Regions from separate parts of the Homo sapiens genome. Here all the other regions are linked to region 3. Evidence: promoter capture Hi-C in 16 types of primary human blood cells and fetal thymus (Javierre and others, 2016). All regions are on one chromosome and are shown on one strand. Each heading gives the region's core, a stretch centred on a gene start or on the middle of the fragment in contact. The rest is flanking DNA. Distances are from core to core; before and after follow the strand shown. Region 1 holds the start of INSL4 (insulin like 4). Region 2 holds the start of RLN1 (relaxin 1). Region 3 overlaps INCR1 (interferon stimulated noncoding RNA 1).

Region 1 (2,700 bases), core at 30-2,529, 370 kb after region 3:
TATAGTAGCCTCTATCTCTTTTCGAAACTGCCCCTGCTAGTTTTAACTTAGCTGGCAATTTATCTTTATGAATACCTTGTTACTTGGTAAAGTTTGAAAACTATCCTGGTATTGAACTTTCCTCAATTCTGAAATCTTGCTTTTAAAGAAAATGCTTTGCAGTCTCAAATGTTGAAAACACTAATCAAATCAGCTATGATGGTCTGAACAGTGAAATTCCCTTGTCTCTGGTCCCCTTCAATTTCCCCTCTAGTCATCCAGGCCACTTTCTTTCTCTTCATCTCATCTCTCTCAACACACTACAAGAGTAGATTCAAAGAAATGGGAGGCAAGGTGCTCTGTTGGTGTGCATTAAAAAAAACTTTTTTGTAAGAGGACGTTTTTGGTGACATAGACCACTGCCCAGCTTAATGACAAAGGATGAGAGTTATTAAATCTAAGCCCCCTTTATCTCACATTCCAGGAACCTAACAGAGGTCTCAGTGTGCTGCCCCTAGGCCAATAGGTGCATAAACAGAAATGATAATCAGCTCATCACCTCACTGTTTGTCCCCTTTCTTCTTAATTGAAGATGCCTGGCCCAGGCATCTCATTGCAATCACACCTGTTTTCTGGCCTGCCCAGCTTTCCTGGGGGTCTGGGAGTACACCTCACCTCCTGCTGGTGTTTGAGAATAGTCACCTTCTCTGAGGATTCCCTGTTTTCTCCACCCTGTATCTCTGGCTGCCAGGTGGGAAAGGCACCAAGAGCCTCCAAGGTGAGGCTGTTCTTCTGTTTTTCCTGCAGCTTCTCCTCTACCCCCAACTTCCCATGAGATTTCTGGTGAGACCCTTTTAATAAAAGCACATTACAATGAAAAACCACAAACTTGTAGGCACTAGCCACAGTAGAGTCTGAGTTGACTACAGGCAGTCAATGAGATCTGGAGCCTGTTTTTTCAGGCCTCATTCTGATTGTTTGGTAGTCCAGGGCTCTCACCTTTGGGACGTCCAGATTCCAGCAGCCACCCTCCTGGGGTGGTGGTGAATGTCTTCTCAGGCATGGGGCAATATGACAGCAAGTGTTTTCCAAATCGGGGACCACATCCCCTCAGCTCTGCTGCTAGGCTTTCTCTAAGGAGTTGGCTCAGCAGCAGCCAGATTGCTGGCAGATAGGACCGGAACAGGCTGGCCATCCTGGACCTGAACTCTCCTGTTCTGGGTGTTCTCAGCCTTTCTTTAGAGACTTGCTGCTGTAGCCTACCAGACTGTGCTGGTGTGTCCCTTCTGGGCTCCAGACTGCTTTCTGCATGCCTTCATCAGGCATTTATTTGCTTAGGGCTATTACTCAGCTTTTGCGTCAATGGTGTCAGTTCCACCCCTTTCCCACCCACCTACAAGGAACTTTCTCCCTCAGTTCTTATTTAGTCTCCCTACTTGCCCTACCCACACTCTCATATCCCTCTTTGCTCCCAATGTGCTGCTGCACTTTGCTTGTTTTGAATTTGGTTGTTCTACTTCTTTTTCTTAACTTTCCTCCTGTAATACTATTTTTATGCTTACTAAAATAATGGTAATTTTTAATGTCCTTTGCTTAGATGAAATAAAAATAGAACTGACCTGTAAGCTCATTGGCTAGAAATTATCTTAGTTAACATTTGGCATATAAGCTTTTAATTGCGGGGGTCTGTCCCACAGACCCTGACCCAACGACGGATGAATAACATACACTGACACAGATAGTTTGCCTGTCAGTCCAGCTGAGGGTCCGGGCCACCTACAGACACCAAGGAGGGTGCTGTAAAGAGTTGCAGCCGTGGCCCCGATCAGCCAGCAAAGCTCACATTTATTCAGCATAGATTAAATGACGAAGGTCTTGAGTAAACACCACTAGAAGGTAATTGACATTGCCAACCTCCCGAGTAGAGAGCAATTATGCACCCGCGGTTGATCAAAGATTAGTCTTAGGACCACATGAGTAAACAAACTAGATAAACTACATTCATTTGTATCTGTGCCTTAAGCTATTAACTCAAGGTAAGGATTAGGCTGCCTTCAGCCTGATCTATTACTGGAGCTTATACAAACCCCTCCGGCGTTTCAAAAAGGTTTGCGTCTTTTTCTTATAACTATCTGAAAAAATTTTCCCACCAGCCTGACTGAACTCTCACATCTCCCCCCTTTCTGTTCTTTGCATCGGGTTCTGTTGACTTAAGAGTACAGATGTGTGCAGCAACAGGTTTGTTAGGTTTTGCTTTTATTCCGGCTTTGCATCATAGAATTAGCAAATAACGTAAGACAATCATGAGTATAATTAGTAACATTCCTTTCCAGTCAAAGTGTGACCCCCAGGATCGGGGGTATAACCAGGAGAAATGATCTTGCACACCTTTCCATATGGCTGTTTGTTGAGTATGTAGATCTATCATGTGAAGGGATTCTAAAATTTTAGTTTTAAGTTGCTTTACGTCTGCTGTTAAATTGTCATGAAAGTTTCCCCAGAGGTGTTGTTTCACCTCATCCCAACTATGTATTGATTGATTCCAAGGTAAAAATGTGACACAGATATGTTTATGCTCCCAGTCACAGTTTAATTGCTATCAGAATGCTAGGGCATCTTGTCGCTCCCCCACAAATTCCAAGGCAGCCTCGAGGGCTTGCAGACGTGCAAGAATCTCTTGATCTATACCCTGCTGTAAGAGAAGTTCATTAGACACATTTC
Region 2 (2,700 bases), core at 157-2,656, 260 kb after region 3:
GAGCCAAATTCTGTCTCAAAAAAATCACCCAAAAACAAACAAAAAACTCTGGAAATTTACATTTTTAATGAGCAATTAATTTGGAGTACAGCCTAGCACGTGGATTGTTTTTACAAGGACTGTTAACCCACGAAAATATTTTCAAACCTCAGTTTTGAGAGGCCTTTCTCAAACTGTGTGTTTTAGTGAAAATCCATTTAAAATCATTAATTGCCTCTAACCATCTCATAGCTTTGGTCAGGTATTTTTTGAAGAATTACACATTGCTTGGCATTTGACCAATGTTAAGTGGGCCTACTGAAATCACCAGCAATCTAGAAATTAGAATTACTTGATTCCATAGTTATGTTTGTAACTAAGAGATTGTTATTATTTTATTTCAAAGCTACCATAACGTCCTGCATGTCTCCAGTTTATCTGATGGAGCTGAACTAATCTGAGTATATTATGAACACAAGCAAGTAAGTTATTTTTAAAAATGAACCTATTTGTACTAAAAATTTACAGGTAGAAGGGTCGTCTACTAACCATATTATCTAGAACTGTGTGGATCTTTAAAATGCTAAATTAGGTGGTGGTAATAAAAAAAGAATCACCTCTAACCAGGTGCAGCAAACACAAAATACAGTAAACAAATGAACATATCCTTGTGCTGTAATTTGTTATCAAAATATTATTTCTGGGAATGTGGGATGTCCACTGCTTTTTTTCCCCTTCTTCTTTCTCTTCTTCTTTTCTCTCTCTCTTTCTCTCTCTCTGTGTGTGTGGTGTGTTCTCCAGTCTCCAGAGACATAGACTAGAATTTTAAATTAAAATATTTAGACAACTAGTTACAATCAAACTTCTCCCACAGGAGTGGAAGGAAAGTCCAATGGAGAAATTGTTTTGTAAATTAAAGACATTACTGCACAAGCCTAAAATGATGTTACTGGGGATTTTAATCTTTTTACCTGGATTCAGATTAAAAGTCATCAGTTTTCCCTCTCATCAACAATTTATTCATTCATCCATTATATTTTTATGGATTGATATGCCCAACATTATACTAATTAATCCAATTTATAAGGTAATCTATAATCCTATTTAGGTTAGAAGGGTTTTTGGCAAATGTTCACTCTGGAAAACTGGGTTGTAAGAATATTGGCGATCTCAATTTTATTTCTGTGTATGTAAAAAGAAAGGCTTCATATCTAAAATAACTTTACCTAAGTATACAAAGTTGTTTCAGGGTAACAAAAGAGCGAAAAACAAAACTGTAAAAGGGCCAAGGACAGAGGAATGGGCAAATGAAGGAAGGGCGGAGAGGCAGAACAAGAGCTGAAGGAGAAAATTCTGTGGAGGGGTGTGGGAAAGGGGTGGAGCTGGCAACCTTGCCTTAAAAGCTGAGTGATAGCCCATACTAAAGACTGGTTGAGCCGGGTAGGGAAAGCAGCCTAAAGCCCGGGACAGGCACACAGGCCCAGGTGTGTAGGCCACAGCAGCCGCAGTCCTGAAAGGCTGCAACACCCAGACCTCCAGGAGAGACCAGGCCCAGGATGCCTCGCCTGTTCTTGTTCCACCTGCTAGAATTCTGTTTACTACTGAACCAATTTTCCAGAGCAGTCGCGGCCAAATGGAAGGACGATGTTATTAAATTATGCGGCCGCGAATTAGTTCGCGCGCAGATTGCCATTTGCGGCATGAGCACCTGGAGCAAAAGGTCTCTGAGCCAGGAAGATGCTCCTCAGACACCTAGACCAGTGGCAGGTGAGAGCTCCCGCCCCCTCCCGGCCTTCCCGCGCTTCCCATTGGTTACTCTGGGGCGGCCGCCCAATTGGAACGGCGGCCTGCACGTCCGACTCGAGATCTCATTGGCTGCCACCGCTCAGCCCCTACTCAGCCGTGGCTGGTCCCTAAAGTTTGGGCTTTTCCTTTGCCAGGTGATTTTATTCAAACAGTCTCACTGGGAATCTCACCGGACGGAGGGAAAGCACTGAGAACAGGAAGCTGCTTCACCCGAGAGTTCCTTGGTGCCCTTTCCGTAAGGCAGTCAGAGCGACGGGGTGGAAAGGGAGGGGAAGCCTCAGAGGAGGTGACGCCGCCCGGAGACCCGCAGGAGGCCGGGCGCACTCCTGCACCCCACAGGAAAGCCAGGCGGCCAGACAGCGGGCGTGCTGGTGGGGGCACCTGAACAGGGCTTCTCGGATAGAGAGGAGAGGGGACAAACACTGAGGCGGCGCGCTAGTTATCAAGCCTGTTTGCGCGCCTGTAGGACGGGGCAACACTCTGAGGTCTCTGTGAGGGTCCCGTGATGGGAAGACAGGAAGGGCCTTACACTTAATGACTCTCCTAGTCCAGAAGTTGGGCTGTGGCCTTTGCCATTGGAAACGTTCTTTAAAATAAACAAACAGAAAATCCCAAAGGAAAGAGTCTGACCTCCCGCTTCTTTGATCTGGGTATTGAAGTTCATTTGTGAGGCAGGGGATGGAAGAGAAAGGAAAGGCTTGAATGCCTTTAGGAGAAACTCAAGAGGACCAGAGACAAGGAAAGCAGGCCGTTCAGACCATCATAGCTGAAGACCCTACTGATGCTTTCAAGCATTTGGAAGCTGCAGTGGGTTTGCTTTAAAGGCAAGCTCTTAGAGTTGAGTACAGCTCAATCTGAAATGGCTTTTAAAAATATTTTAGTATTTATAAAGTAGCAGTGGAAACTCATGGAGGT
Region 3 (2,700 bases), core at 65-2,564:
TATTGCTGTTCCCAATCTTTGTACTTGTTGCTGCTTTTTCTTGTCTTAATGCACTTAGAAAATCCACTATAATGTTGAGTAGAAGTAAATAGGACTTCTAAGTCTTGTTCCTGATTTTAATAAGTCTGCTCATTATCTGCTGCATCTTTTGAGATTATCATATTTTTCCCCTGTAGTCTGTTAATGCGGTAAATTTTACATATATATATATATTTTTGTTTGTTTGTTTGTTTGTTTGGTTTTTGAGATGGTGTTTCACTCTTGCTGCCTAGGCTGGAGTGCAATGGTGCGATCTCAGCTCGCTGCAAACTCTGCCTCCTGGATTCAAGCGATTCTCGTGCCTCAGCCTCCCGAGTAGCTGGGATTACAGGTGTGTGCCACCACACCTGGCTAATTTTTGTATTTTTAGCAGAGAAAGGGTTTCACCATGTTGGTCAGGCTGGTCTCAAACTCCTGACCTCAGGTGATTTACCTGCCTTGGCCTCCCAAAGTGCTGGGATTTCAGGCATGAGCCACTGTGCCTGGCCAATGAATTATATTTTTATATTTTCTTTTCTTTATTATTATTATTATTATTATTTTGAGACAGGGTCTTGCTCTGTTGCCCAGGCTGGAGGGCAGTGGTGCCATCTTGGCTCACTGTAACCTTCACTTCCAGGCTCAAGTGATTCTCTCACCTCAGCCTCCCAAGTAGCTGGGACTACAGGCATGTGCTACCAAGCCTGGCTAATTTTTGTATTTTTTTTGGTAGAGACGGGGTTTTACCATGTTGCCCCGGTTGGTCTCTAACTCTTGGGCTCAAGTAATTCACCCACCTTGGCCTCTCAAGGCACTGGGGCTACAGGTGTGAGCCACCATGCCTAGCCATATTTTTTATTTCCTAATGTTTAACTGCGCTTGCATTTCTGGTTAAACTCAACTTGTTTATGATGTATTATCTATTTGAAATAAACTCCTAAGCTTGTTTCATTAGTATTTAATTTGAATTTGTAGCTATGTTTATGAGTGAGATTGGTTCAAAAGGTTTCTTTATTGTCCTGTCCTTCTTTGGTTTTGCTATCAAGGTTACGTTAATATCATTGAGTGAATTGTGTCATAGTCCCTCTTTTTCTGTTTTATAGGACATTTTTAAAGATTGGAATGATCTCGTTCTTGAAACCTAGGTGTAAGTAATTTGTAAACATATCTGAACTAAATATTTTCTTTGTGGGAAGATTTAAAAATATTGATTGCATTTCTTTGGTAGATACAAAACAATTCAGGTTCTCTGTTTTTGAGTAAGTTTTGGTAAATTATAGTTTTCTAGGAATTTGCCCATTTCACCTAAGTTTTTGAATATGTGGCCTAAATTGATTCAGAGTAGCTCATCTAAAAAAATCTTTGCCTTGTCTGTGATTAGGTCCCTTTTTATTCTAATATTGCTTATTTGTGCCTTCTTTTTTTTTCCTCGCTCAATCTCAGCAGAGATTGTTCTGTTTATAAAATAAAACTTTTAATTTTGTGGATTCTTTTTTTGTAGCTTTGTTTACTTTTTTCTGAACCTCTGTTTTTATCTCTGTTATCTATTTCCTCCTACTTTGATTGTTTTTCTATTTTTCCTCCTAATTTCTTGAGTTGAACACAAAGCTCATTAATTTTTAACCTTTCTTCTTGTCTGAAACAAGCTTTCAAATTAATAAATTGTCCTTAGAGAATGACTTTGACTGTTTTACAGAACATGGTAGGTGATATTTTCATTATCATTCGGCTTTTAGGATTTTTACATTTCTTCCATAATTTTTTCTTTGACACATGAATTACCTACAAGTGTGTTTCCACATTTTTCAATATATAAGAACTTTTATAGATTTATCTTTTGTTATTGCCTCTAACTTAATTACTTTGCGCACAGAGAATGAGGACTGTGTTATAATTTTGTGAGACTTGCCATATGGTCTAATAAATGGACAATTTTTGTAATTGCACTATGATATTTAAGAAAAATAAGTGCATTTGCCAACTGTTGGATGCAGAATTTTTATCTATTTGATTGTTATTAATTGTGTTGTTCAGATCTTCCATATTTTTAATATCTTTGCTTTGGGTGGTCTGTTGGTAATTGAGAGAGATATATTGAAAGCTCTCATTGGCAATTTCTCTTTGTAGTTCAGTAAATATTTGCTTTATATATTTGAAACAATTTTTCTAGGTGTAAAACTTTGAAGTTATTATATCACTGACAATTGGAACGTTTATAAAAATCAAGTAGTGGTCCCTCTCTAACTCTAACGATACCTATTTTCATCAGTCTATTTTGTGTGATTTTTAATATACACTTCTGTTTTTTTGGTTACTGTTTTCCTGCTACATCTTTCAACCATTTTGTGTCTTAAGTTTTAGGTTTTTCTTTTGAAAGAGCATGTAGTTAGAGGTTTTTTGTTTGTTTGTTCCCCAATCTGTCTTTTACTATAAAGTTTAGATTTATATTTATTATAATTATTAATATATCTAGACATTTTCTACCACCACACTTTTAATTTTTATTTGTCCAACTTTTATTTGGCTTTCCCCCTTTTCCTTTATTGCTCTCTACTCAGTTGATTGGGGTTGGGCTTTTGTTTGTAAGTTTGTTTTCTTTTTCCATTTTTCTCTCTTCTATTTTAGAAGTTATTGGACTTTTTGTTATCTGAAAATTGACTATAGTGACTTAGAAAAATTGCA

Evidence for each region. Contacts are between HindIII fragments. The CHiCAGO score rates a contact against its expected background, and 5 or more counts as called.
Region 1: a contact is called between the fragment with the promoter of INSL4 here and a fragment that was not itself captured in region 3, in 8 of 17 cell types (activated CD4 T cells, endothelial precursors, naive CD4 T cells and 5 more). The highest score is 11.1, in activated CD4 T cells.
Region 2: the fragment with the promoter of RLN1 here is called in contact with a fragment that was not itself captured in region 3 in 4 of 17 cell types (non-activated CD4 T cells, activated CD4 T cells, naive CD4 T cells and 1 more); the score reaches 8.2 in non-activated CD4 T cells.

Annotation. Positions count from the first base shown.
Region 1 is chr9:5,229,998-5,232,697 of GRCh38, reverse strand. It overlaps INSL4 (insulin like 4), which reads right to left and starts at 1,279. Exons shown (of 2, transcript NM_002195.2): 1 at 979-1,279. The coding sequence starts at 1,174. RefSeq lists a promoter at 1,185-2,002. The HindIII fragment of the contact is 5,637 bases long and covers 1-1,650 here.
Region 2 is chr9:5,338,582-5,341,281 of GRCh38, reverse strand. It overlaps RLN1 (relaxin 1), which reads left to right and starts at 1,406. Exons shown (of 2, transcript NM_006911.4): 1 at 1,406-1,746. The coding sequence starts at 1,536. It also overlaps a transcript of RLN2 not described here. The HindIII fragment of the contact is 10,294 bases long and covers 1-2,700 here.
Region 3 is chr9:5,603,357-5,606,056 of GRCh38, reverse strand. All of the region lies in intron 1 of INCR1 (interferon stimulated noncoding RNA 1), which reads left to right. Among named protein-coding and RNA genes, the nearest start is that of RIC1, 24 kb to the left of the region's middle. The HindIII fragment of the contact is 704 bases long and covers 963-1,666 here.